7 separate regions of the Homo sapiens genome follow, and regions 2, 3, 4, 5, 6 and 7 are each linked to region 1. Evidence: promoter capture Hi-C in 16 types of primary human blood cells and fetal thymus (Javierre and others, 2016). All regions are on one chromosome and are shown on one strand. The core of a region is centred on a gene start or on the middle of the fragment in contact, and the rest is flanking DNA. Distances in the headings are between cores, read along the strand shown.

Region 1 (3,759 bases), core at 831-3,330:
TGTCAAATAGATTCTAGAAGTCACTTAGATCTTTTTATAATCTTATAACTCACATCAACCTATACTACAGTGCTACTAAGGTGGTAATCATGATGATTGCTAAAGCCCAAGAATGACGATGTGTATCAGTATTTCTAAGATCACTTTTTGAATACCCCAAAATGCACAATAATGTACGACACTTGGCAAATGACATAACTTTGCCCCGAGAGACAAATGCCTCCAGCAGCTTTAACAGCTGACCAGAGCCAGTGTATGTTTCAGGCATCTTGCCTTTCCATGAATCCAGCATTTCTCAGGGGTGAACAGAGCCAGCCTTGCCGAGCCAGAAAATAACTTCACCCGGGCGTGGAACTCTACAGCTACATAAATTATAAAGGGACTGTTCATCCTGCTAGCCCTAGATGGGGGCCTGCCCAGTGACATCTGTCCAACGTGATCGTTGGGGAGTTGGGGGAATTAGGATGGGGAGAATTCTCCCAGCCTTCAGCTGTGCAAGGCAGGAACTTTATTTCTCATATAACTAGGTGAGGCTGGCTAAGAATGCTTGAAAGAACAGCTGCCAAATCCATTTAAACAACCCCCGCTCCTTTTTTTAAGGGAACAATGTGATGCCCTTACCAGAGTCGCTGTCTGCCTGATACTGATAGTGGCTAAGCCAAGAGGGTAACTCTGCCAAATGTTTGCATTTTTCCTCTTCTGGGGCTCCCCTTAACAACATCTCATTCCCCCCCCCATTTCAGATTAAGAAGGGAGACAGCCCTAGGACTGATTCCAATTCCCTTCCGTGTCATTGAAATTGACTTAGTCCACATTGCCCGCACCCACCACGCACCTGGAAGTTTGTTTGAGGTCGGCGCAGGTGCAGGGGTGGCCCGAGTTGTAAGAATGGTATGGTACTGAAAGTGGCACGCGGAGTTCAAACCTACACTCTGTTGTGGCCGCTGGGTAACCTTAAGAAGTTACTTCTTTTTCAGCTTCAGGTTTTCCAACCGCAGAAGATATCAAAACCCGAATCCACTTTACTTGTTTTTGGACATACCGGGACTAGACATTGCTTTGCAAACCAAAAGGCTGTGCAAAGTCAGTATTTTAAAAGAGAGGTACTATTTCCTACAACGTGCCTGCCCACCTTCCTTGGTCCAAATCCGCCTATATCCCCCCCATCCCCAAGCATCCCTGGGATTGCAGTCCGTGTGCACCCCCGTGCGGGGCGAGGAGAATCTCCTGTGTCCAGGATCTTTCCAACAGCTAAACATCGGTACCGCTCCCCTCAGCTCCGGAAACCTTTAACCCATTTTCACTGAAAGCGCTTTGCAATTTACAAGTACTCTGCACTTAGAGAATCGAGCAAGTAGAGGGCCGGCTGGGGAGGGTCCCTCCGGCGACCGCCTTCACCTTTCCCGGAGCGCCTTCAGTTTCCCCACATATTATCTCCAGTGAGAAGAAAAGCGGAGTCTCCCGCAGCGGCACCCAGCAACCCCCAGGCCCTTCGGCGCCAGTGCGCCGGGTGCTGCACGCAGCGCACCTGGCGCGGGCGGCTCACCTGGAGCTGGCGGCGCTGGCAGCAGGTAGGCGCGCAGGCGGCTGACGGCACTAGCGTTGACGCAGAGCCCGCGGCCGTCCAGCAGCGCCTGCAGCGGTCGCGCCTCGTCGGGCGACGGCTGGCAGCGAAGGCCGGAGCCACAGCGCTCGGTGTAGATGCCGCACGGCTGGCCCTCGCTCAGTGCGCACGTCAGGCAGCAGCCGCAGCCCGGCTCGCGCACCAGCTCCGCGCACACGGCGGGCGGAGGCGCGCACTGGGCCAGTGCACGCGCGTCGCACGGCTCGCAGCGCACCACGGGACCCAAGCCCGCCGAGCTCGCGCCAGCCCGCGCCACCGGCGGCCCGCGGAGCAGCACCAGCAGAGTCAGCGCAGCGGCCCAGAGCGTGGGTCGCGCCCGCTGCATGACGCCTGCAACCGGGGCACGCTGCTTGGCAGGCTGGGCGCGCAGGGATGGGGCGACAGTACACGGCGCGAAGCTGTGGAATCCAGGCAGGAAGCGGCTGATCCTCAGCGCCCAGCCGCAGTGCTCGCATCTGGGCGGCCCGGGCGCGCCGGCCGCTATATAGAAGCCGGGGTGGCCCAGGACACGCCCCGGAACGGCGCGCCCAGGAGTGGGGGTTGGGAGGGGGGCGGGTCGGCGCAGGCACGGCTGCGGGGGCCCGTGCTTCGCCCTGAGCAGCCGGGGCCGAGCTCGGGGGCGTGCAGCTCGAGACTCGCCCGGGCACCTGCTCCTCGTGCGCACGCCCGGAGCCCGGGTCACCTTGTCGTCTACAAGAACCAAGGTGTGCCCGGCCACCCCGGCACTCCAGGCCACCTCAGCACCCCCGGTCACCCCAGTCACTCCTGGCCAACTCAGCACCCCCGATCTCCTTGACCCCGCCGCCCTTACCCCTTCCGCTCTCGGGGTGAGGTCTCCCTGCGGCGAGCCGGTGTCGGGGAAACTGGCATACAGCGCTCCGCATTCGTGTGTACCTCGTGGAGCTTTCTAAAATTTAATTCCGTTGGCAGGCGAAGTCTTGGGACATTTCTGACTTACATTTGGGTCTCAGGGAGCCAAGGCACTGCGGGGTTTAATTTACACCCGCTGGGCTGTTTATATCCCCAGGGGCCCACAAATACGCATCTGAAGATGCGCCCGGGGCCTTCGCCCCTTTCCAGGCTTACTTCTCAACGCAAGAAGACTCTCACGTGTTGCTACACCGCAAGTCTCCAATTAAGAGTGGACCGGCAAGCGAATGCGTCCTTAAGGCAGGGCTTTTCAAATATTTTAAATGACAACTGTTCTTCTTGTCTTGGGTATTCTCCCTGATTATGTTTTCAAATGGAGTTTACACCCATGACAAAAGAATAATAAAGACAATAAACTGGGCACTGCTGAAACGTAATTAACCAAATAGTCCTTTAATAGGCAATTTTCATTGTCATTTTTTGAAGGCGACTTCGTATTACTGTATTCTCGATGCGTTGGGATTCTAGCTTATCTCTGCAATCTAAACACTTTTCAGTAAAGTTCGGGGGCGCAATTGCGCGCTGAGGTCGCTGTAACTCCTGTCGGCCTTCTCTGGCACTCGAGTTTCTTCAGTTTTGTCTGCGCACCCCCTCCCTTCGGTGACCAACAGAGGACGCTGGTGGTCCAGGATTGGATTGAGGATTAAATTTTTCAAGGCACTTTTCCAAAGAGTTTGTGGGGGTGGAGTGGGAAGCGGTGAGACCTCCGCGGGAGGAGACTTTCCTGAACGCTGTTGAAATTGGACGCTTGCCTTAGGAGGTGGATAGGTGACTTGAAGGAGCCCTTTGCAGTTTGGAGTAGTAATAGCAAATCAGGAGCTCCTCCATTCCCCTCCAGCACGAAGCCTTGGGTGAAGTTAATCTTCATTCATCATTTCTGTCTCTCCTAATCGATCTCTCGCCCAGTGTCTCTCCTTGTCCCTCTCCCTCCCTTTCTCTCTCTCGTCCTCTCCCCTTTTCCCCCTGTCCACCTCTTCCCCCATATCTATACAGCTTCCTTTTATACATATATACTCTCCTTTTAGAATGGAAAGATCAATTTCGTTCCCTCTTGTACTAAATAAATAAATAATTGGACCTCTACAAATAAAAAGAGACCAAAGACAAGAACAATGGAGTGCCCCGGGGTGACGAAGGCCCAGCACCGTCATTTTCTTATGAGCTCTTCTCCCACAGTGCTCAGGCTGTGGCTACACTCAACCTTG
Region 2 (3,759 bases), core at 474-2,973, 1.9 Mb after region 1:
AACCAGAGACAGTCCTTCCTCCTAGAGACTCTGGGCTTCTAGGAACTTGACAGCAGGAATGTGAACAATATAAAGCTGCACATGCAGAGTGTTGGGGCTTAAGTTACTCCCTTCAGCTGTTGTGCTGTTCTGAGAAAGGAACACGTGTGGCGGAGAGATCCGTGGGGAGGCTTGGGTGTAGGGGGGCACCCCAACTCTAAGATGCTAATGAGCCATGCATAGGTTTGGAGATGCCAGCCTGGCCCTCAGGATCAGGCTGAATTCATCAGAAGGAGCCTCACCTCTGAGGTTGGGATGATAGAAAGAAAATGAACAAACTGGCAGCACAGCAGGGCACAGCTGTACGAGGGGAGAAGAGGAAGGAGAGCCTTCCAAGCAGAAAGGAAAGCTGAGATCCAACAGGTATGAGGGAACAAGGGCAACGTTGCTTCTCAAGAGCTAAGGTGCTGCAGGGCGGGGGGTGCAGGAGGAAAGGGCAAGGTGGGCCAGGTTTGGGCCCCAGACTCCCCTTTACTGCAGTGTAGCCTGGGTCTAATTGCTTCACCTCATCTTTAAATGGGGTGCAGGGATGCTGCCTAATTCATCAGGTGTTATAAGGAACAAATGATCCGATAAATGTAAATACAGTGTAGATGTAAAACAGCATAATGACTAGTACATAGCCTGTGTGCACCACCCATCTTCAGCAGCAGCAGCCTTGGTTTTAGGCAGGGCTGAGAGGCCTCAGACAGGTCCTCAGACATGGAGTTTATTAGGATCCTTTGCGAGGAGGAGGGTGGAGATGAGGAGAGGCCCAGACCGGGGTCTGACTCTCAATGCACTGGGATTGGGTCCTTGGTCGTAAGTGACTTGTGGTTATTACAAGAGTACAGAATTGCACATGCATTTCAGGTGCTTAGTCAATGAGCCTGTGAATGTCTTTGCGGTGGCCAGCAGACCTCTCTCTTCCTTCATATCATTCACACTGCCCAACAGAATGCTACACATACAACAGGCAAAACTGAATAAAAGAAGGAAGAAAGGGAGGGAGGAAGGGACAAAGGGATGAAGGCAGGGAGAGAGGAAGGATGGGGAGGAGTACATTTTCTGTGGGTTCACTGAAGGGCAAATGGACTAAAAGTTCTCCAAAATCATGGCCAAGAATTAGAGTTCTTACTTGCTTCAGTATTTTAAAATATGCTCATTTTCTTGATGCTCTAACTTCTTTAGGATTGGAGTTAAAAAAAAATAAGTCCTATGTGTTCATCTATCATACAGGTATGTGCAAAGAAGCATAAGAAATTAAGACATCCCATGGGTCTCCAAAGATGCAACCCAATCTGAATTCAAAGCCTACATTCAGATATGCATGATAGAATATAAAGTAGTTTTTTAAATCTCAATTTGCACTGCATAGGTAATTTTTTTTACTTTTTCAACCTCGCCTGCACAGTCAGGAATACTGCAGCTTGAAGAGAAGGGGAGGCGAGTCCAGGAACGTTCTGCCAATTCAGAGTCCAGATCCCTGGTAGCCTCACATAAAGACTCAGTAAAAAAGTGGTTGTCAGCTCTTCTTTTCCAAGCAAAACCCAAGGCCATGAGGCATACCTGGAAGGAAAAACATGACAGCGCAGAGAGCCGCCCTATGTCTGTGTTCATTCCACACAGAGCTGTCCTCCCGTCCCCTAATCATGAACAGGACTCCATCTCCCAGTTTTAAAGACACCAGTAGTCACTGCCTTGGATTCCCAGCCCAACTACTCACCAGGCATGGCCCCGCCCAAGAGACCTAAATTCTCTGAGTTCAATTTCCTCAAATAAAAAACGTGGGTTAAAGTGGTACCCTCCTCAAAGATTTTTATGAGGATTAAAGAACAGGCCCATGTGCAGCTTAGCACAGAGCCTGGCTCCTGGTTCTCTCCAACCACAGCTGAAATCAGGGTATAAAGAAAAGTCATACACAACCAAAATGAAGCCTCTATTTCCCCTTCCCATCTAGGTCCCCTGCTGATGGAAGGCACTTCTACCATGGAGGGTGTTTCTTACCATAAGTGGCTGGGTGATGAAAATACAGCAGACCACGGAGAGGGACAGCAGGTGCAGCCACTGCACACATTGCTCCTGGCCAAACCTGCCCCCAGGGAAAGTGCAGTGGTCAGCCCCCTCTAAGGGAGCAGGCCACCCAGCAGTCATTGCTGCCTAAGCACAGGGACACTGCCTGAGAGGGCCTATGGCCTCGCCGTGGCAGGAAGCCTGCTGTGGGGGTGGTGCTGGACATGGGCAGTGTCTTTCTGCTCATCGGAGGGGAACCCTTGTCTGCCAAGAGGACATCGACCTCCCTGAAGCTGCCTAGTGGGAAAGAGAAAGGAAAACCCAACAGGCAGATGAAACAGAGCACAGAGAGGGGAAGGGGGAGGAAAATGGGTTGGGGTATAATAATAATAATAGCAGCAACAACAACAAAGCTGGATGCTGGCGGGTGCTCCGCAGGGGCAGGCATGATGCTAACAGGACTGCTTTCATATTTCAGCTGCTCCTCCCCAAGCCCTAAGAATTAAGCTCTCTGATGTTCCTATTTTACAGATGAGCAAACTGAGGCACAAGAGAGGTCTAAGTACCTGCCCATCCTCACAGAGTGATTCAACATCTACAGTTGAGGAGAGGGGAGAGACGGGAAGAAAGGGCCTTGGCTTTGAGGCTACTCTTTGTGGTTTATGAACCACACTGAGTGACCCTGGGGTCTCCGATGGCGAGTCCAAGCTGTACAGGAGCCAGAGAGGTACCATGTGCCGGAGTGACAGGATCAGAATCTGTGACACATGCATCATAATCCCTGTCCCGAAGGCATACGCTTTTTCAAATGATGGGAGACCATGAACAGTATATTCTAGCCAGAGTTCCTGGCTGGGAACCTGCTCCTCTCAGGAGCTCTGCAGCTGGGTTCCTTCCTTCCTTGGGTGGGCGTCCTGCAGCTTCTTGTTTAATATCTGGACCCCATCCAGGCCTGCTGCCATGGCAGAGCTGGCCAGGCCAAGCCACCCTTTGGGATCTGCATAGGATTTTATTTACCCCAGGAGATGGGAGGGAGAAATGAGGGAGAAAATAGCAATAGTGACATCTGGAGCCTGCATCTGATGAGTTCCCAGAAATGCAGGGATTTGTTTACAAATGCGAGACTTTCCATCTGAGGACCTGAGGATGTTTGAAAAACTCTACAGCTCACCTGTAGGCTAGAAATCCTGTCCCCAAACTGCAGGCCAAAGAAGCGGTCCCACAAATGGCCCACACTGCAGAGCTCCACCAAGGCTGAAGGGCCCTTGACCACTGGGGCATTAGTCCCTCCAAACCACTGCTGGGTGCTGCGGAAGAGTAGGACAGAGACAAGGCAGCTTAAGAGACCTCGGCATCTCCATCCACGCGGAGTGTGGTGGTGAATCTTAGGTGTCAACTAGGCTGGGTCGTAGGGTGCCCAGGCATTTGGTTAAATGTGATTTTTGAGTGTGTTCGGGGTTGGGGGTGTTTCCAGGTGGCATTAAGATCTGAATCAGCAGACTGAGTGAAGCAGAGGGCCTTCCTAGCCACAGGCCTCCTCCAATCCCTTGAGGTCCTGAATAGAACGCACAGGCTGAGAACAGGGGAACTCCTGCCCGACTGCTGAGCTGGGACATTGGTGCTCACCTAAGGGTCTGGGGTCAGGATGGGGGTGGTGAGCAGCAACTCCTGCCTTGCTGTGCCCTCAGAAGGCTTTTGGGGATCTCCTCTTCTGACCTGCATAGGGAC
Region 3 (3,759 bases), core at 444-2,943, 1.3 Mb after region 1:
AAATGCAGTCACTCCATTTCAACAGCCCCAGTAGCCCCCAAGTCTTAATTTATCTCAGAATTAATTTTAAATTTTAAATCCAGTCTCATGTAAACATCATGTGGGTGAGACTCAAGGAACTATTCATCCTAAGGCTAATTTCCTCCCAGCTGTGAACCTGTAAAATCAAATTAGATATGTATTTCCAAAATACAATAGTGGGACAGGCATCCATGTTGTTACATAGATAAAAAGTGTTTACCACAAGTATACCGCAATTTACTTATTCATTCTCCTAGTGATAGACATTTGGGCTGTTTCCGGATTGGGGCTATTATAAATAATGCATCTATAAACATTTTCATACAAAACTTTTACAAGAAATACTTACATTAGAACATTTTCATTTCAAAAGAGAGAAATAAGAAGAAAGAAATGACAAGTCCGAAACACAACAGAGCAAACATTAAATCTTAAGGCTAGAGAATAATTTTCTTTGAGTCCATGTATCACCTTCCAGACATACTGGGGCAGAGATTTGCCCTCAAGATTCCTGGCAGCCCCCACCCTCATGGCTCTGCTAGAGATTTTTGTTTTTGCTCATACCACAGTTCTCTCAGGTGGGAGTCCAGGTGCCTACAGCCCTCCCAGGCTGGTGCTGCACACTGGTGTTTCTATAGCCATGAGGTCTCTGGGGGTGGTCCTGTCCCCACAACTTCACTAAGCATTCCCATAGGGTGGGTTCTCTGTAACAGCCCCACCGCTGTGGCAGATATGCCTTGGCCTCAAGGCATTCTTGAAAATCTAGGTGGAGGTAGCTATGCCTCCACAGCTCTTGCATTCTGCTTGCCTGAAAAATTAGCACCACATAAACAACATTAAATCTCACTCCCTGTGTCTTCTGTAGCAGTGGCCCCAGCTGCATGTAGGTCCCCTCTAAGCCATAGCAGGGGTGGCCAAGGAGCATTACACCAGAATGTGGAGAACAGAGACTTGGGACAGCCTTGGGCCACAAACCCTGAGGTCCTATGGGTATCCTGGTTTCTCCCCAGAAACTGTTCTGCCCGCAAGGCCCTAGAACTCTGGGCCTGCAATGAGCATGGGAACCCCAAATATATCCGAAATGGCTTTGGGGTCATCATCCATTGTCTTGATGAATAGCATCTGGTCCCTTCTATCCATGTTAATTTCCTTATCAAATGTTCATTTGGCCATACCCTTGGTTTTCTCTTCTAAGCATACATATTTATTCTTTAAATAGACAAGCTTAGAATTTTCAAAATCTTTAGGTTCTGTTTTACTTTTAATTACAAATTCCATCTTTAAATCATTTCTCTCTTCTTTCGTTTTACTATAAGCAGTTAAGAGAAGCCATACAGTATCCTGAACACTTTGCTAGAAGAAATTTCTTCCACCAAATATCCTAGTTTATCGCTCTTAAGTTGTGCATTCTACAAAGTCCCAGGACAATGACAGAAGTCAGTCAAGTTCTTTGTAACAAGAATGGCCTTTCCTCCAGTTTCTCATACCTGTCTCTCACTTTCATCTGAGACCTCAGCAGAATAGTCTTCAATGTCCATGTTTCTATCAGCATTCTGGCCAAGCACTTAAGTAATCTCTAAGAAGAATGAGGTTTTCCTACAGCTCTCCTTTTCTTCCAAGCCTTCACCACCATCACTGTGAATGCACCACTCTTGGCAATCTGGGCTTTTTCCTGCATTCCCTTCAAACCTGTTCCAGTGCCAGCCATCATCCAGTCCCAAAGCCATTTCCACAGTTTTAGGTTTTTGTTGTAGCAACACCCCAATTCCCTGGTACCAATTTTTGTTTTAGTCAGTTCGTGCTGCTATAACAGAATACCTGAGAGTGGGGAATTTATAAAGAACAAAAATTTATTTCTCACAGTTCTAGAAGCTGGAGAGTCCAAGATCAAGGTGCCAGCAGGTTTCTTATCTGCTGAAGATCCAGTCATTGCTTCCAACAATTTTGGAGAGGACAAAAACATTTAAACCATAACAATGACCTATCAAATAATACTATGTAGCTAGCTAGCTACTTATCTACCTGAGGAGACTCTCCAGATGGTGAGGCAAGGTCAAAGGGAAGGATGGCTAGAGTGTTAATTACTAGGCAGTGGTGACTTGATGCAAACAAGATGGGACTGAAGCTTTGAGTTCCTATGGCATACTCACAATCACAATCTCCCCCTATTCAGAGACCATCTTTTAAAATTCATCTGTTTGGATCATTCCCCTCTCTCTTCTCAACCCTTTGGTTGGTTTGTTAGAAGCTGCACACATATCCTTTGTTAAGGAGGATGGCATACTTTCTTTGATGCACTGGACTATGAAGAGCAGGACTAGTTATTTCCGCACCTTTGGGAGGCATGATTTTTCTCTTTGCTGTCTTGAGTTTGCCTTTTTCTCAAAGTCATAGTGTTGATATCTAGAGTCCTAATGTTGCACGGGGCAGAGTGGATGCTCAGAAGGGCTGGTTTCAGCCATGGAGGCTGCAGACTTCACTGTTGCCTGACCTCAGAGGTGCCTACAGCTCCAGTGGTCCACAGAGTTAAAACCAGATGACTGTACAAAGATTTGGGGCCAAGGCCTATTGAGTAATGCCAGAGAATATGCATGCCTGAGCTTGTCCCCATGGCGAGCATCAGCTTTGGAAAGCTGAGTGGCAGTAGGTGGGAATTAAAAACACAAAGCCATCTCGAGCTTATGTTATGCCATGACATAAAAATTTGGATGACTTTGGCTTTGAGTGTTGTAAATCAGCAATATCAACAGCTCATCATCTGGCAGGGCTCGGGATGAGATTCCAGTGGTGGCTGCCACATACCTGGAGCTGGCTGTGACATCGACAGCACACTCACAGGCCAGCAGCCTGCTGCTGCCACATCGCCCAGCCCTGTCCATGTGCTTCAGCAAGGGCTCTCGGAGTCCTCCAAGCTCTGCTGCTCAGTGCCTTTAAGTGAGTTTTTCCATTTCCCTGCTTTTCACTCAGCCTATTTGGCTTCTGTTCCCATGGAACTGCTCTCTCTTTTCATCATATTCAATGAGCTCTTTTTGTTTTGGTGAGGGGACATATATTTCACATTTCATTCAGCCACATAAAAAGTGACTGAGGGTGTGCTGCACCCATCAACTCGTCATTTAACATTAGGTATAGCACCTACATGGCACATGTATACATATGTAACTAACCTGCACGTTGTGCACATGTACCTAAAACTTAAAGTATAATAAAAAAAATAGAAAATAAAGAAACACAATGACCTGGATGTGCAGGGGTGAGGAGAGTTCAGGTTCTAAATGGTGATTTAACAATTACATAATACGTTAGCATCTGAGAATAGGCATACAAGAAAAAAAATCACTGGGAACAAAGATCAGAGAAAAATGTTTAAACTAAAACATACCTTCTTCAATATAAGAAGTACCCCTTGTAGTTTGTTTTGGCTCACTTGAACTTAGCAGGACATTTTGTCCAAAATTCTACAAAAATAGAATATTGAATTAAAACATATCTCCATATTTAAAATTCATAATATGTTCATGAGCTTTTAAAAAACTTTTAATTGCTGTATATATTTTTAGCTATAATTGTTCATGTAACTTGCATATTACATTTTTTAGAGCTGAATTCAAGAATTATTATAATAAAGATTTCTATGGTAATGGAAAAAAAAGTGACTGAGGGAAAGCAAAACTGAAATATTACACTTACCTTGAAAACATTATTGAATTATTTTCCCTATGTAGTAAAATTATTTGT
Region 4 (3,759 bases), core at 615-3,114, 1.3 Mb after region 1:
AAAGAAAGGGAAGAAGGTTGGTGGTGGGACCTAAGCTCCAAACACTCTCCGTCCTCACCAGGATGGCTCAGGATGAACCCAGAGCTCTCACATAGATGGACAGACTCACAATGGCCAGGAAGGAAAAAAAAGGATGAAGACCACAAGTAGGTATAACCATGCACTTGCAGAGAAGAGGGGGCATATTGGGCTGTGAGATTGTATAACCAGTGCATCAAGGGACACGGAATCAGTGGCACCATTTCCTGAGTCTGCAGTATAAAGGTTAGCTGGCTGCCCAAGGAGAAACACAGCAAGTCAAAGAGAGGTCAGAGGTTTCTCCCTGAGGTCTTTATACAGAGATCATGATGTAGCGTAGTCAAGGACAGCCTCACCGATGTCCTCATGGCGAGCAAAGTCATGCATTTTACAGGGCTCTGTCTTAGAATGTCCCTGCAATGTACATTACATTTTAGGAGCATTCAGGAAAAGTACTGCAATAAAAGAAAGCCATGTGGTCCCCAGAGCACTCTGATGATGTGGCTTAAGGCTGGGACCAAATGAACAGTATTGAACACTAGCAAATGCCTAGGTGCTTGTCTCCGTGAGTTTTCTTTGCGACGCATTTTGACAAGCGTGGGATAGCTCTGAGTTTGACATTTTATCTTCTGAGATGAAGCTGGAGAGAAGCCAGTCCAGGCATCCCGTGCTGCAGTGGCTTTTAGGGGAGCTGAGGACGGCAGTCTTCCTGTGTCCAGGCCCCCCAACCAACCTCCTCCACAGATGGGCAGAAGAATCTCAGTGAACTGCATTAAAATTGGTCTTTACCCCATGAAAGATTGGCAGTGGTGCAGGAAAAAGAACAAAGGGCCAAGCCTCAGTCTCCCCATCATCAAATTAGAAGAGTTAGCTAGATCCGTGATTTCAAACTTCCCTCAATCCAGCTCCCTGCTCAGCCCTGTCCCAGCCCGGCCCCAGAGTCCTTCCCTGAGTGCTGCAGCTGCAGCAGGACTGAGAATTCCCACCCTGAATGCTACAGCTGCTTCCCAAGTATGAAGCTGAACAAATGAATTTTCTCACCAACTTGCTCACATGTCTGACCTGACAGTGCACCTGTACCTCAGCTCCTCCTCTCTGCAGTCCGCCTAGGGCCCTCCCCACTACACTAAAGAGAGGCGTTACCTGTCCTAGGAATAGCACACTGTTCCCTGCTCTCCCCCCACCATGCCCCAGCAGCTTCCCAAGCTTGGCATTCCTACCAATTCATGTAAGCCAATCCCAAAGGACTCTATTTATAGTTTTCAAATATTGGCACATGAGCTGCTTCCAGCCTGCCAGGTACTTTCTGAGAAAGAACACAGTACAGCTCTCTCTTGCTCGCTCTGCCTCTCTCCCTCCTACCTCTCTCCTTCTGTGTGTGTCTCTCTCTCTCCCCAAATGCTGCTTTTAAGCCTATCAGCCCCTTCACCAGGGACTGTGAACACAAAGACCAATGCAAAAAACATCTTCAACTGAAGCCATTCCAAATTGGAAACAAGCCACCATCCATGGAGAGTTTGGGATGGTTTGGAAAAAAGTATTTTGCTATTGCCAAAGTTCTAATTCAGCATCCTTTGAAATCTTACATTCAAGAAGTAGTCCTTATATAACACAAATTTGGTGAGAACATTCCAATGCTCATCATTCAGGTGTCAGGAAAAGATCCAAATAATAAAAAACTTAAATGAGTCCTTATTTTTTTTTCCACTGGGGCACATATGGCATTCACATGTAAGAAACACTCATAAATGTGTGCCCAGTATTACCCACGACTCACTGGAACCCCAGGCCAGGGGTGGGGACCACAGACACTGAGTGATGGTACAGGAAGAGGAAAGGGGTAGGCCTCCTCCACTGGGCAATGGTTTACTTCTGTGACAACAGGGTCTCCATAGCACAGCATGGTGCCCAGCATGATGATGGGCATCGTTCCTGCACCCTGGGGTCCCCAGAGCTGTTTGGGGTCCCACTGATGGGATGCAAGTAGAGATACCGGACAAGAGCTGGAGTGAGCTGAGGCTGCTAATGTTGCCCCATGGCAGGCATCAAAAGTTTCTTCCTGCCCAGGCTGGGTTGGAGCAAGGAAGACCCTAAGCCTCCCCAGCATCTACCGTATTGTTAGATCTGGAAGTGGGAGCCCTCAGAGAGTATAACTTTGAACCCTATCACAAAATGCTGATATAAGACACAAACAGAGAGCATTCCCCTCTCTGTGCCTTGGCCCACACCTGGGATTGGTGGAGCCTCACATCTCTATGACCTTTAACCTTCACCATCACTGCAGTTGCCTGACTTCTCTTGTTGCCAGAACACACAGAGCTCATAACCAGGGAGCATTTGCAGGTATTTCTGCCTCTGTCTGGAATGCTCTGTCTCCTCTCCTTTTCACTCTGCCACCTGGCTCTCCCTGTTGGAAGGGCCACTATCTGAAACTGCCTTATGTCTTCATATGTTTCACGTGTGCAGCTGTCTCCCCTAGTAGAATGTAAGCTTCAGGGGACAAGGCACTGTTTTATTTATCACCATACCTCCTGCATTTAGCATGTTAATTAGTCATAGTATTTGTTCAATTAGACATGGCAAATTGATACTAGCTACTCTTTATTGAGTACCTATAATGTTGTCAGAGAGTTCACATGCCTTCTGGGAAGTTCCCAGAACAATTCCATGAGACACAAACCTCACACCCAGCTTCAGTCAAGCTGGAATACTATCATTAATATATGCAAATTCAGTAAAGGCAGCTTTATATGAAAGTAAGGTACCATTCCCTGAGCCTTCTAATGGGCCATCTGACCAGGGGAGCAGTGGGAGTAGAGAGAAGTGGGTGAGTCCCAGGGTCAGATGTGGAGGGTGAAGCATGTTCACATGTCTGTGCTCCTAGGAATGTACCCCTGCATCTGGGGTGATGCTTCAGCCTCACCCACAGTGCCCTACACACCTGTCATGCACCATTTACTGGAATGGGTTGTTAGGAGAACGTTCTGCACATTTACAGGGTTTAACCTTCATCCTGGAGAAAAATCACAGCCCTCAAGCTTCAAAGATTCTCATAGAAAATTTCTGGAAAATAGAGATCTCTAGAATTACAAGTCAGAATTGATGTGATTCTTCTGAGACTGAACTTGGAACCAATACAAATGAGAAAAAAGCAGAAAGAATGTGCGCCAGACCCACGTCTGCCCCACCCCCCGCCACTGCAGCCTTCTACTCCTCCCCACCCCGTCCTACAGAATCCAGTTCTGACCACCGCTGTCACTCAGCGTCTCTCCAGTTATCCCCAAGGGGCTCGTCAGTACCAGAGAAATGTAAACTAGAACCACGATCCAGTGCCCCTTTGAACCATCAAACTGGCAAAATATAAAAAATAAGAAACCAAGCATTGGTGAGGATGTGGAGCAGTGGAAACCCCCCTACACTTCCAACTGGAAGGTAACGTGGCCCAACCACCTGGAAAATCAATTTGACAAAATTTAACAGAACAGAGCATATACAGACTCTACAACACAGTCATTCCACCCAAAAGAGACAAGTGCCCATGTGCTTGGGAGACGGCCAGCTGTGCAGAATGGCTCTCTGCCCACTGGAAACCAAGGAGGGAAGGCAACAGCCAGCACTCCCTCGGGAGTACAATTAATAAACAGGTTGTGGTATCTTCTTCGCACATGAAATATCATAGAGCAATACCAGTAAATGAACTCACCACATCTGCAGGCTTAAGAAAAATCATAAGACCAAACC
Region 5 (3,759 bases), core at 426-2,925, 1.2 Mb after region 1:
CCAAAACCTCAAAAGCAAGGAAACCGACAGTGCAGCCTTCAGTCTGTGGGTGAAGGCCCAGGAGCCCCTGGCAAACCACAGTGTAAGTCCAAGAGTCCAAAAGCCGAGGAACTTGGAGTCAGATGTTTGGAGGCAGGAAGCATCCAGCACAGGAAAGAGATGAAGGCTGGAAGACTCAGCAAGTTCACTCCTTCCACCTTCTTCTGCCTGCTTTAGCCACGCTGGTATCTGATTAGACGGCGCCCACCCAGATTGAGGGTGGGTCTGCCTCTCCCAGTCCACTGACTCAAATGTTAATCTCCTTTGGCAACACCCTCATAGACACACCCAGGAACAATACTTTGCATCCTTCAATCCAGTGAAGTTGATACTTTATATTAGTCATCATACGGATTTAAAAACTATCAGACAGCATATTTAAAATAACTATAATTAATATGTTAAGAACTCTCATAGAAAAAGGAGGCAATATGTAACAGATAACTAATGGAAGCAGAGATGAAAACTTGAAGAAAGAACTAGAAAGAAATGCTTCTAGCCACCAAAAGAGGACTAGTGTATGATCTCATTTATATGAGGTATCTAAAGTACTCAGATTAATAAAAGCACAAAGTAGAACGGTGGCCACCAGGGACTGGAGGAAAGGGGGAAAGGCATGTTGTTGTTTAGTGGGTACAGCATTTCAGTTTGGAATGATGAAAAAGTTCTGGATATTTGTTGCACAATGTAAATATCATTAACAACACCGACTTGTACCCTTAAAAATGGTCTAGGTGGAAATTTTACATTATGTGGTAGTTTTTTTTCTAATCACAATTTTTTAAAATGTTGAGGCTGCAGAAAATCAAGACCTGTCTTGATATCCTACAGGCTGGGGTGGAAATTGGCATCCCATGCTGGAATGAACTTAATAGTGTCTAGTCTAATTGAAATCTGTATGCACATAACTCAACAAATCTACTTCTATGTATATGCCCTAGAAAAACTCCTTTGTTTGCCCAAGAGGCTCAAAGCTGTTCATTAAATCACTATTTTTATCGCAGAAATTTTTTAAAAGAAAAATATTTTTTGTGTTGGTAATGGATACGTAAATGTTGTAAGTTAATATGGCAGAATACTATATATAGCGATTAAAAATATGATTAAAGTATTTAGCAGCTAGTCATTGAGCAGTTACTATATGTCAGATAGTGTCTGTCAATAAACCTTTTCTTATTTAATTAAAAGAAAAGAATCAGTGATTTTAAAGACAGCCAAATAGAAACTTCCTAAGCTGAAATGCAAAGAGAAAAAAAGTAAAAAAAAAAAACCAGAATATTCAAGAATTGTAGGACAATTTCTACAGATATAAGATATGCATAATTGAAATACCAGAAGGAAAGATAAAAGAAAATGGATCAGAAGAAAATTTAAAGTAACAATAGCTGAGAATTTCCAAAATTAATGACAGGGACCAAACCACTGATCTAGGAAACTCAGAGAACAATGAGCAAGGTAAATATCATCCCATATTCAAACTTTAGAAAATCAAAGACAAAGAGGAAAATCTTGAAATAAAATTCGGGGTGGCACAGAACGTTTTACTTATAGAGGAATACAAGTAAGAATTTCAGAAGACTTTTTAGAAGCTATGAAAGAAAAAAGACAAAGTGAAATATTTAAAATGTTGAAAAGGGCTGGGCACAGTGGCTCACGCCTGTAATCCCAGCACTTTGGCAGGCCAAGGCATGAAGATCTCCTGAGGTCAGGAGTTCAAGACCAGCCTGGCCAATGTGGTGAAACCCTGTCTCTACTAAAAATACAAAAATTAGCCTGGTGTGGTGGCACATGCTTGTAGTCCCAGCTACTTGGGAGGCTAAGGCAGGAGAATCACTTGAACCCGGGAGGTGGAGGTTGCAGTGAGCTGAGATCGCACCATTGCACTCTAGCCTGGGTGACAAGAGTGAAACTCCATCTCAAAATAAAATAAAATAAAATGTTGAAAAGAAAAAAAATACCAACCTATAGGATTTTAGGTTGGCGAAATTATCCTTCAAAAAGGACAGATAAATTAAGACTTTCTCAGACAAACCAGAACTGAGATAATTCACGGCAAGCAGACCTGCCCTGCAAGAAGTGTTCAAAGAGGTTCTTTAGGCAGTGAGATAATGGTACAGGCCAGAAACTAGAATCTGCCTAAGAAAGAAAGTTCATCATAGAAGGAATAAGTGAGGGTAAAACAAAATACTTCATTTTTCTCATTCTTAATTGATCTGAAAAATAACTGTTTGTTACCGCATGTTCTCATTCATAAGTGGGAGTGGAACAATGAGAACACATGGCCACAGGGAGGGGAACATCACACACCGGGGCCTGTTTGGGGGTGGGGGGCAAGGGGAGGCAGAGCATTAGAACAAATACCTAATGCATGCGGGGCTAAAAACCTAGATGACAGGTTGATAGGTGCAGCAAACCACCATGGCACACATATACCTATATAACAAACCTGCACATTCTGCACATGTATCCCAGAACTCAAAGTAAAATAAAATAAATAAATAAATAAATAATAACTATTTGTTTAATCATAGTAACAATGTACTGGATTCTTATAGTATATGGAAAAAATGAAATGTGTGACAACAATGTTATAAGGAACAGGAGGGAGGAATTGGAAGAATTCTGTTACAAGACACCTGTGCCTGAATCAGTATGGTGTTATTTGAAGGGGGACTTAGGTTAGTTAAAAATGTGTATTATACACTTTTGGGCAACAACAACAAAAAATTTCAGTGTACTTGATATGCTGGTAGAGGAGATAAAATAGAGTCATAGAAAATGTGCAATTAAAACCAGAGAAAGCAGAAAAAGAGGAGAGGTTTTAAAAACCACAATAAATAGAAAACAGTAACAAACATGGCAGATATTAATCCAACTATACTGTACCAATAATCACTTGATTGAGAATGATTTTAATACACCAATTAAAAGACTGAGATTGTCAGAGTGGATTGAAAACAAACCTAACTCTGTATTGCTTACAAAAAAAACCCCACACATTAAATATAATCAGAAATGTGAAAAGCAAAAGGCAAGAGGAAAAATAAACCATGCTTACTCTAAGCAAAATGAATTTCAAGTGGCTATATTAGTTTCAGACAAATCAGACTTCAGACAAGAAATTTTTCATGGGTAAAGAACGGTGTTACATGATGATAAAGAGGTCAGTTCTCCAAGAAGACATAAAAATCCTAAACATCTATCCACTGAAAAACAAGGCATCAAAATCCATAAATTACAACTGATGGAAATGAAAGGAGAAATGGACAACTCTACCTATACAGTTGTGGACTTTAACACCCCTCATTCAGTAATTAGTAGGTCAGGCAGGCAGAATGCTGGTAAAGACACAATTTACTGGCAAAGAACTATCCATCATCTTGATCTAACTGACATTCTAGACTACTCCATCCAACAACAGAAAACACATTATTTTTAAGTTATGGAACATTTACCATGATTAACCACATAATGGATCATAAAACACAATTTAGGTAATTGAAAAGAACAGAAATCATACAAAGGATATTTCCAGGCAACAATGAATTAAGCTAGAAAGATAGCTGCAAAACACTCACATATTTGGATATAAAACAGCATACTTTTAAATAACACAAGGGTCAAAAGAACTCAAGGGAAATTAAAAATATTTTGAACTAGTTGCAAATGAAAATATAATTTATCAAAATGTTTGGGAAACAGCAAAGTAATGCTTAGAGG
Region 6 (3,759 bases), core at 457-2,956, 1.2 Mb after region 1:
TGGAAGAACAAAATTGGACTCTTATCTCACACCATATACAAAAATCAACTCAAAATGGATAAAAGACTTAAACATAACACTGGAAACTCTAAAACTACTAGAAGAAAACATAGGGGAAAATCTCCACAACAATGGTATTGGCAATAATTTCTTGGAAAGTATTGCAAAAGCACAGACAACAAAAGCCAAAACAGAGAAATCAGATTGCATAAAACTAAAAAGCTTTTTCACAGCAAAAGAAAAAACAGATTGAAGAGACAACCCATGGACTGGGAGAAAATATTTGTAAATCATACATCTAACAAGGGACTAATATCCAACATATATGAGAAACTCAAACAACTCGATAGCAAGAAAATAGAACACCTTTTTAAAGAACAGACAAAGGATCTAAACAGACTCTTCTCAAAAGAAAAGATACAAATGGCCAAAAGATTTATGAAAGAAGCTCAACATCTCTAATCACCAGGGAAATGCAAATTAAAACCACAGTGAAAAATCACCCCATAGAATGGCTAATATAAAAAAGATGAAAGTTAACAAGAGGTGGTGAGGATGTAGAGAAAAGGGAAACTTGCACACTATTCATGGAAATATAAATTAGTACAGCCATTTTGGAAAATAGTATGGAGGTACCTCAAAAAAATAGAATTCTATAAATAGAATCACTATATAATTCAGCAATTTTACTTCTGGAAAACTGTCAATCATATTTCAAAGAGACTTAAGTAATAAGTGGAAAATTCCATGTATTTATTCATGTAATTCCAATTTCAATAGTTTTTTATTAATTTCATAGATCCGTATTTCCATCTGGTAGAATATTCCTCCTGCCTGAAGGATTTTCTTTAACATTTCTTATGTGTCTGCTGGCAATAGATACTTTCTGCTTTTCTATGTCTGAAAAAGTCTTTAGTTAGCTTCATTTTTGACATATTTTCACCAAGTATAGGATTCTCACTTGGCATGTTGGACTTTTGTTGTTGTTGTACTTTAAAAATGTTACCGTGCTGTCTTCTTACTTACATGGTTTCCAATAAGAAATCTGCTGTCATCCTTATCACTGCTGGTCTGAACATAATGCACCTTTTTTCCAAGATGTTTTTCCTAGCTTTTACTAGCAGCTAGTGAAAAAGGTGCATCGTGTGTATTATTTTTCCTTTATCACTGGTTTTGAGCAAATTGGTTATGATATACCTTAGTTTTGTTTTCTTCATTTTTCTTATACTTAAAGTTATTTAGCTTCTTAAATGTGTGGATTTATAGTTTCTATCAAACTTGGAAAATTCTTGACTATTCAATATTTTTAAGCTCCTCCCCTCTGTCCTCTCCTTGAGGCACTTCAATCACACGTATATTTGGCTACTTGCAGTTGTCCCACAGTTCTCTGAGGCTCTGTTTATTTCCTCGCTACAGGTCATATTTTCTTGCTTATTTGCATGCCTTGTAATTTTTATTGAATTTCATATACTGTGAATTTTGCTTTGTTGGGAACTGGATATTTCTGTATTCCTATACATATTCTTGAGCTTTGATCAGTTAAATCATGTGGAAACAGTTTGAAACTCTGGGGTTTAATATTCATTAGTTGTGACCAGAATAGTGCCCAATTTAGGGCTAAATATTTCCCTCTATTGAGGCAAAGCCTTCCTGTGTACTCTACCTAATTCTTAATGAATCTCACGCCTTTCCAGGCTGTCTGATGGAATAGACATTCTTTGCAGCCAAGTGTGAGTATTGGGTACTTTTGCTTTTCATCCTTCCAGATGCTTCTCTCCTTGGCCTTGGGTAGTTTTCTGCAATCAGGGATTTATGTGAACACATTGTATGCCATCTGCAGGTTGCCAGAGTTCTTTCTGTGTGCCCTTTCTTCTCTCAAGAACCAAGTTGAGCAAATTCTAGCCACTTTGTTACCATTGACTCTCAGCTTCATCTCTTCAACTCAGAACTCCACCAGGCTGTCTGGGTTCCCTCTTCCTGCCCCTGATACTGGAAACCCTCTCAAGGCAGTAAGCTAGAGAAATTATAGGGCTCACCTTGTTCTATTCCTGTCTCTCAGAGATGATGGTCCTTTACTGCCTGATATTCAGTGTCTTAATTAAAACATATTGTTTTATATGTTTTGCTAATTTGTTTTGTTTCAGGCAAGAGGCAAACATACACTCCATTACTTTGCCCTGCCCCAAAACAAAATTCAATACATCAAACAATTTTTGATCTTGGATTTTTAATAAGATCTAAAATATATATTTAACGCATTTTGTTTGTTGTCCTTTGCAAGAAAGTTATTTCCCAAAAATGTGATTGATTTTATCCACTATGTCAAATAATTGCTGTAAGTTCTATGTATAAAAGGTTACAGAATCTCATTGGATTCAAACAAATCCCATGGCAGAATATATTTTATTAGATATATATTCTACTAGATACTATTTCAAATATATACATAAAATATATATTACTAAATATAAGATAAAGATATATGTATGAAACAAAATGACATGGAAAACGTAAAATATAACAAAGATACAGAAAAAGAAAATTAAGGAGATAATAAGCAGTGATCATGATGAGACAGGCAGAAATTTAAGGAAAGATTGCTTAATAGCGTGAAGAACAATATCTTGTTTTGATAAAAGTATGACACAGATGTACCAGTCATGAACCAGGTGCTTGGAATGAGAAGAACCAAAAGATCTTGTTGAGCATCAAGAAAGCTCTAAAATTAAGAATCTGACAAAGAGGAATGAGGCTGTCATTTCTAGTCATAATGAGTCCAAATCAATCATGATGCATTGCCTGGGGGCTGGGCGTGTTCCTGTCTCTCACAAAATGAAAGTTCTTTAGCAAAGAGTAGTGAGAAAATTAGAAAGGCAACCAACAGTGCCACAGGAGCAAAGCCCTCAGCGTCCAAACTGCATGGTGGATAGTGATAAGGGGGACTCCTCCCACCCTCTGAAACACTGTCTGGTTAGTGTTGTCACAAAAATATTCTTTTTGCCTCAAATGCACTACACATTTTTTAAGTTCAAGTGTTCTTATTATAGGTTTTTCTCATGTTGCTCCACCCTGCACTCCACAGCACTCAGAGTCGTCGAGTGTCATACGGCTGGTCTGGCAGATAGTTCTGCACTCATAATCGTCTTCTCTCCAAAGATCAGCGCTACTTTCTGCAGGGCTGTGCTCGTTTCGAAGCTTCTTCTTCCTTCCAGAAGCTTCTAAGCCCCTCACACAGTTACTTCTAATCTACTAAGTGGATGTCAGCCTTAATGGAGTTTAAAGGACATCAATCTTAGATTTAGCAAACTGGGTTTAAACCTTGCTTGCATCATCTCCCAGCTGGTGAACTGGCACAAATAACCTGTTAGACCATTAGTTTCCTCACATAAAACTAAGATAATAAGATCCATCCTTTAGACATGCCTGATACATAGGGGCAAAAATGGACAAGTGTTGGCCATGATTGTTAGAAAAATATCCACCTGACTCCAGTGCCTGGGTTCTATCCACAACGTGCATTGTGCATCTTAGCTTTTATGATTTGTTTCAGAACATATTCAAATTAGATGTTCTTTTAAGTATATGTATTTTGCCACAGAATGGGAGTGGAGAAGGCAAATAAAATTTGGAATGACATGAACAGAAAAATTTGTCAATAAGTATTTCAAAAAATTGAATCGTAATGTCTCCATGAAAATTTCAGTCAAAATAGCCAGTGGTAAGAATTAGAGTTGAAAGCACCTACCTATTACACACAGG
Region 7 (3,759 bases), core at 741-3,240, 1.2 Mb after region 1:
CCCTAAGCAAAAGGTTTGAATGCAGAGTCCACCAATTCTTGGCTGTGACCCCTAGAGAAAGTTCATCACTGTGCTGTCAATTTCTTCACTTGAAAGGGGAAATTTTCTGCATTACAGGATTTCTGTAAAAAGCATGTGAAAATACACACCAAGTAGGTGGCACATTTTTATGATTTACAAATTTTATCCAACTACCATATTCAATTAAACTGTGATTCCAGTGGGTGTCTTAGCCAGCTCAGGTTGCTATAACAAAACATCACAGAGTGGGTAACTTCAACGACAGAAATTTATTCTTTACAGTTTGGGAGGCTGGAAGTTCAAGATCAAGGTATTGGATAACTCGGTTCCTAGTGAGGGCTCCCTGCCCAGTTTATAGAAGGCCACCTTTTCACTGAGCCCTCACACAATGGAGAGAGAGATCATGTCTCTTGTGTCTCTTTTTATAAGGGCACTAATCTCATTCATGAGGACTCCACCTTCAGGAAATAATTACTTCCTATAAGCCTCACCTCCTGATATCATCATATTGGTGGGTACGGCTTCAAATGTGAATTTTGTAAGGACACAAACATTTGGTCCATAGCAGTGGCCAGAAAGTAGAAGGGGGTGGGAAAGAACGAGCCTCAAAAAGAATACCAACTCCTGTGAATCTATTCTTGACATTACTTCCTTCTCTCTCAGCAGTATTATTCAACCCCACGACTTCTAAATTGTTTGCCAGCCCAGATTTCCCTCCCAGAGATGAAAATCACATGCTAAAGGGACCCTCAAGCCTCTGGTGAGTGAAACCAGAAACACAGACCATCCTTGGCACTGTTTCCATATGGCCAGCATGGCTATGACCGGAGCCCCCATCCCCAAGCAGTGAAACAAGCCAGGGCAGACAAAGGACACAGCAAGGCATAGGCAGGTCTCATTTCGTATGAGCGCCTCAGGGTCAAGGTTAGGGCTTGCTTCCCATGCACACTGCACTTGGAATCTGGAATATATTTGGTGCTCAGTAAACTTGGATTTTCTATGTGAACGATTTAAATGAGTCCCTGCTGCAAGAGCACAGTGTTTCCATGCTTGCTGTTCTTTTGAACAACCACTGTTCACTTTCACATCTCCCTGGGCTGTCATTGCCTTAGGAGGCCTGCACTGGTCCCTGACATAGAGAGACCCTCACTGTTAGGGTCCTGGAGCACTGGAACCCTCCTCTCATAGGACACAACACACTCTAGTGAAATGGCATAGGACCTCTGTTTCCATTGGGACAGGAACTCCATGGCAGGCTTCCCTTGCGGGATGATGGATCACTGTGGGCTAATGGAATATTATACAAGGGAAGAAGCCACTGATTCTGTTTGAGCTGATCAGGGGAATGTTTGTGGAGACACCCTTGAGGGGCTTATCAAGTCAGAATGAGTTTTCCAAACAGACCAGGAAGATAGGAAAGTCCTGTGGAAGAAAACGCAGGCGTAAAGAGCCAGCGGTGTGCCATGGCCCCTGCATTTGGAGACCAGTGGAAGTTTAATGTGGCTGGAGTAGCAGGCAAATGTGCGAAAGCAGATTTGCACAGGAGGCAGTACAGGACTAGTCACGTTCATCATGCCTAACGTGATTCTGACCCAGGGCCAATCCCAGCAGACACCTGGCAATGACCAGAGACATTCTTGGTCATCACAACTGGGGAAGTGCTACTGGTATCCAGGGAGTGTTTCTCAGGGATGCTGTTAACAGCCTACAATGCACAGGGCAGCCTCCCACAGTAAAGTTACCCTGCCCCAAATGTCCCTGCTGCTGAGGTTGAGAAACCCTCCACTCCTGCAAGGCAGGATTAACACAGGACCGACCTCGCCATGGCCACTTCGGGCCTTCGTGACCCCAGCTGTGAAGGCCAGAGGACAGGAGAAAAAAAATGCAATGGGGACCAGTAGAGCCAAAATAAGGCTTGTGTTTCTGGGCTCTGGCCCAGTGTTGAGCCACTGCGTCCTCTGCCTCACCTGAAGGGGCTGCATCGGGAGCAAGAAGCCTGGCCACAGCCTTCTGGTCAGGTCTTGGCTATGGCTGCAGTCCATTTAAAACATTTTGTGACCCTAACTTTCCTCAGTGCCACTGACCTTCCTGCATCCCTCATGAAGCATAAACTCTGTGTCTGTGCTCTGCTGAGTTCAGTGATGGCCCTGCAGGCACCAAGGGGCCTATTGTGGAGGCCCTGGGGGGCAGGCACAGTGGGGAGGAGAGACGTGATGGCAGGGCCCAGCTCACTCAGAGTGCTGACAGTTAACAGACTCTCCTACAACCCAAGAGGCATCCGTTCCCATTCGGAAGCAAGGATGCTGAGGACTTGGCCACACCAATGGCTGGTTGAGGGTCACCCATGGTAAGGGATGAAGCCAGAGGCCCAAACACCAACACCAATTCAAAGGTGGTCTTTGAATCACTTGGGGCCACTCATGATGCCCTGTAACAGCCTGAGCAAACTCATTCTTCATTTGGTTGGTAGAAAAAGATTCTGAACTGTAGCAAGTTAGAGAATTGTTCTCACACTTGATTAAAATACAATTGCTAGCTGAAATCTGCAGTAGAGTTTTCGAACTCTTATATGGACATGGGAAGAGAAAGAAAGGCCAACAGAATAGTAAAAAGACTCTGGGATGCATGAAAACAAATTGTAAACATATTTAATTTTTATTTAATTTGATAAGCAGTCCTCTAATTCTTGGAACTTCAGAAAGTCACTCCTGGGAGCAATCGTGTTTGCAGAATAGGTAGTAACTCAGCTTTAGTTGTTATTTCTTCTGATAACAAATCACATTTTTGAGTCACAAACCAATATGTTTCTCTAACTCATTAGTGTGTGTTATTTTGTCTTTAAAAGACCCAGAGATCTTCCCTGCATACCCAGTTGGAGTGTCTGCTTATTGATGAGAACATTGATGGTGACTTGGAGGAGTTCATTTTACCTTTGAAGGATTGGACAATAGAAGCAATTTAAATGTGAGTTGTTCTCACTCCATTTAGTTAACACTTGTTTCATAAGGACTAAGATTACAAAGCTGACATTTATTTTATGTCAAATAACCACAGAAACCTGTGCACTAATAGCTGCCTTCACACTGCTACAGTTGAATGATGGTGAAGAATGCCAGCAAAAAAATCTCTCTTGGAGATTATGTGGGGATGTAATGAATGTAAGACTAGGCCCCTGAAAAATAAGATAATTAAGTTGTGGCTTTTTATTGTGCTTTCATTCTGATTGCGGCCTGGATCAATGCCAAAAAATTATGAATAAGCATAATGCCTGGCACATAAAAGGTGTTTAATAAATACCTATGAATAAATAAATAATATAAAGACATGAGGTATTGAAAGCCTTGGATTTGGATGTCCTGGATTTTTACACTAGCTAGCACTGGGACTGGCTGACTAAGTCAATTTAGGGGACCTACTTCACTGTTCTGAGTCTCACTTGTGCAGTTGTGTACCAAGAACTTTAGACTTGGTTAAACCACCATCAAGTTTATTGAGAGCCTCCTACGTGTATGAGCCTGATGGTATCCACTTTAAATATATATAATGGTATCCACTTATTTAAATATAAATATAAGTATCCAAATATTTAAATGGTATCCACTTTAAATATATATAAATACATCCACTTTAAATATATATATTATCTTCACCTTTTCTAATTGTTTGCTACAAAAATAAAAATGTCTTCCTTCTTCTAATACAGTTATGATTCTCAATGAAAGTAGACATCAAGATGCA

What was found. Contacts are between HindIII fragments. The CHiCAGO score rates a contact against its expected background, and 5 or more counts as called.
Region 2: a contact is called between a fragment that was not itself captured here and the fragment with the promoter of IGFBP3 in region 1, in 1 of 17 cell types (naive CD8 T cells). The highest score is 6.7, in naive CD8 T cells.
Region 3: a fragment that was not itself captured here is called in contact with the fragment with the promoter of IGFBP3 in region 1 in 9 of 17 cell types (M0 macrophages, M1 macrophages, M2 macrophages and 6 more); the score reaches 20.1 in M0 macrophages.
Region 4: a contact is called between a fragment that was not itself captured here and the fragment with the promoter of IGFBP3 in region 1, in 12 of 17 cell types (total B cells, M0 macrophages, M2 macrophages and 9 more). The highest score is 88.4, in total B cells.
Region 5: a fragment that was not itself captured here is called in contact with the fragment with the promoter of IGFBP3 in region 1 in 6 of 17 cell types (M1 macrophages, M2 macrophages, monocytes and 3 more); the score reaches 10.2 in M1 macrophages.
Region 6: a contact is called between a fragment that was not itself captured here and the fragment with the promoter of IGFBP3 in region 1, in 6 of 17 cell types (M1 macrophages, M0 macrophages, M2 macrophages and 3 more). The highest score is 14.8, in M1 macrophages.
Region 7: a contact is called between a fragment that was not itself captured here and the fragment with the promoter of IGFBP3 in region 1, in 7 of 17 cell types (M2 macrophages, M0 macrophages, M1 macrophages and 4 more). The highest score is 10.4, in M2 macrophages.

What each region holds. Positions count from the first base shown.
Region 1 is chr7:45,919,192-45,922,950 of GRCh38, forward strand. It overlaps IGFBP3 (insulin like growth factor binding protein 3), which reads right to left and starts at 2,081. Exons shown (of 5, transcript NM_000598.5): 1 at 1,547-2,081. The coding sequence starts at 1,949. RefSeq lists enhancers at 1,884-2,464, 2,465-3,045. The HindIII fragment of the contact is 8,094 bases long and covers 1-3,759 here.
Region 2 is chr7:47,828,015-47,831,773 of GRCh38, forward strand. PKD1L1 (polycystin 1 like 1, transient receptor potential channel interacting) reads right to left here. Exons shown (of 57, transcript NM_138295.5): 42 at 3,203-3,338; 43 at 2,026-2,110; 44 at 1,411-1,587. Among named protein-coding and RNA genes, the nearest start is that of PKD1L1-AS1, 35 kb to the left of the region's middle. The HindIII fragment of the contact is 5,313 bases long and covers 1-3,759 here.
Region 3 is chr7:47,199,745-47,203,503 of GRCh38, forward strand. No RefSeq gene overlaps it. Among named protein-coding and RNA genes, the nearest start is that of SNORD151, 260 kb to the right of the region's middle. The HindIII fragment of the contact is 901 bases long and covers 1,244-2,144 here.
Region 4 is chr7:47,180,829-47,184,587 of GRCh38, forward strand. No RefSeq gene overlaps it. Among named protein-coding and RNA genes, the nearest start is that of SNORD151, 280 kb to the right of the region's middle. The HindIII fragment of the contact is 1,284 bases long and covers 1,223-2,506 here.
Region 5 is chr7:47,155,873-47,159,631 of GRCh38, forward strand. No RefSeq gene overlaps it. Among named protein-coding and RNA genes, the nearest start is that of SNORD151, 310 kb to the right of the region's middle. The HindIII fragment of the contact is 5,824 bases long and covers 1-3,759 here.
Region 6 is chr7:47,139,646-47,143,404 of GRCh38, forward strand. No RefSeq gene overlaps it. Among named protein-coding and RNA genes, the nearest start is that of SNORD151, 320 kb to the right of the region's middle. The HindIII fragment of the contact is 2,973 bases long and covers 221-3,193 here.
Region 7 is chr7:47,120,620-47,124,378 of GRCh38, forward strand. No RefSeq gene overlaps it. Among named protein-coding and RNA genes, the nearest start is that of SNORD151, 340 kb to the right of the region's middle. RefSeq lists an enhancer at 1,798-2,297. The HindIII fragment of the contact is 5,266 bases long and covers 1-3,759 here.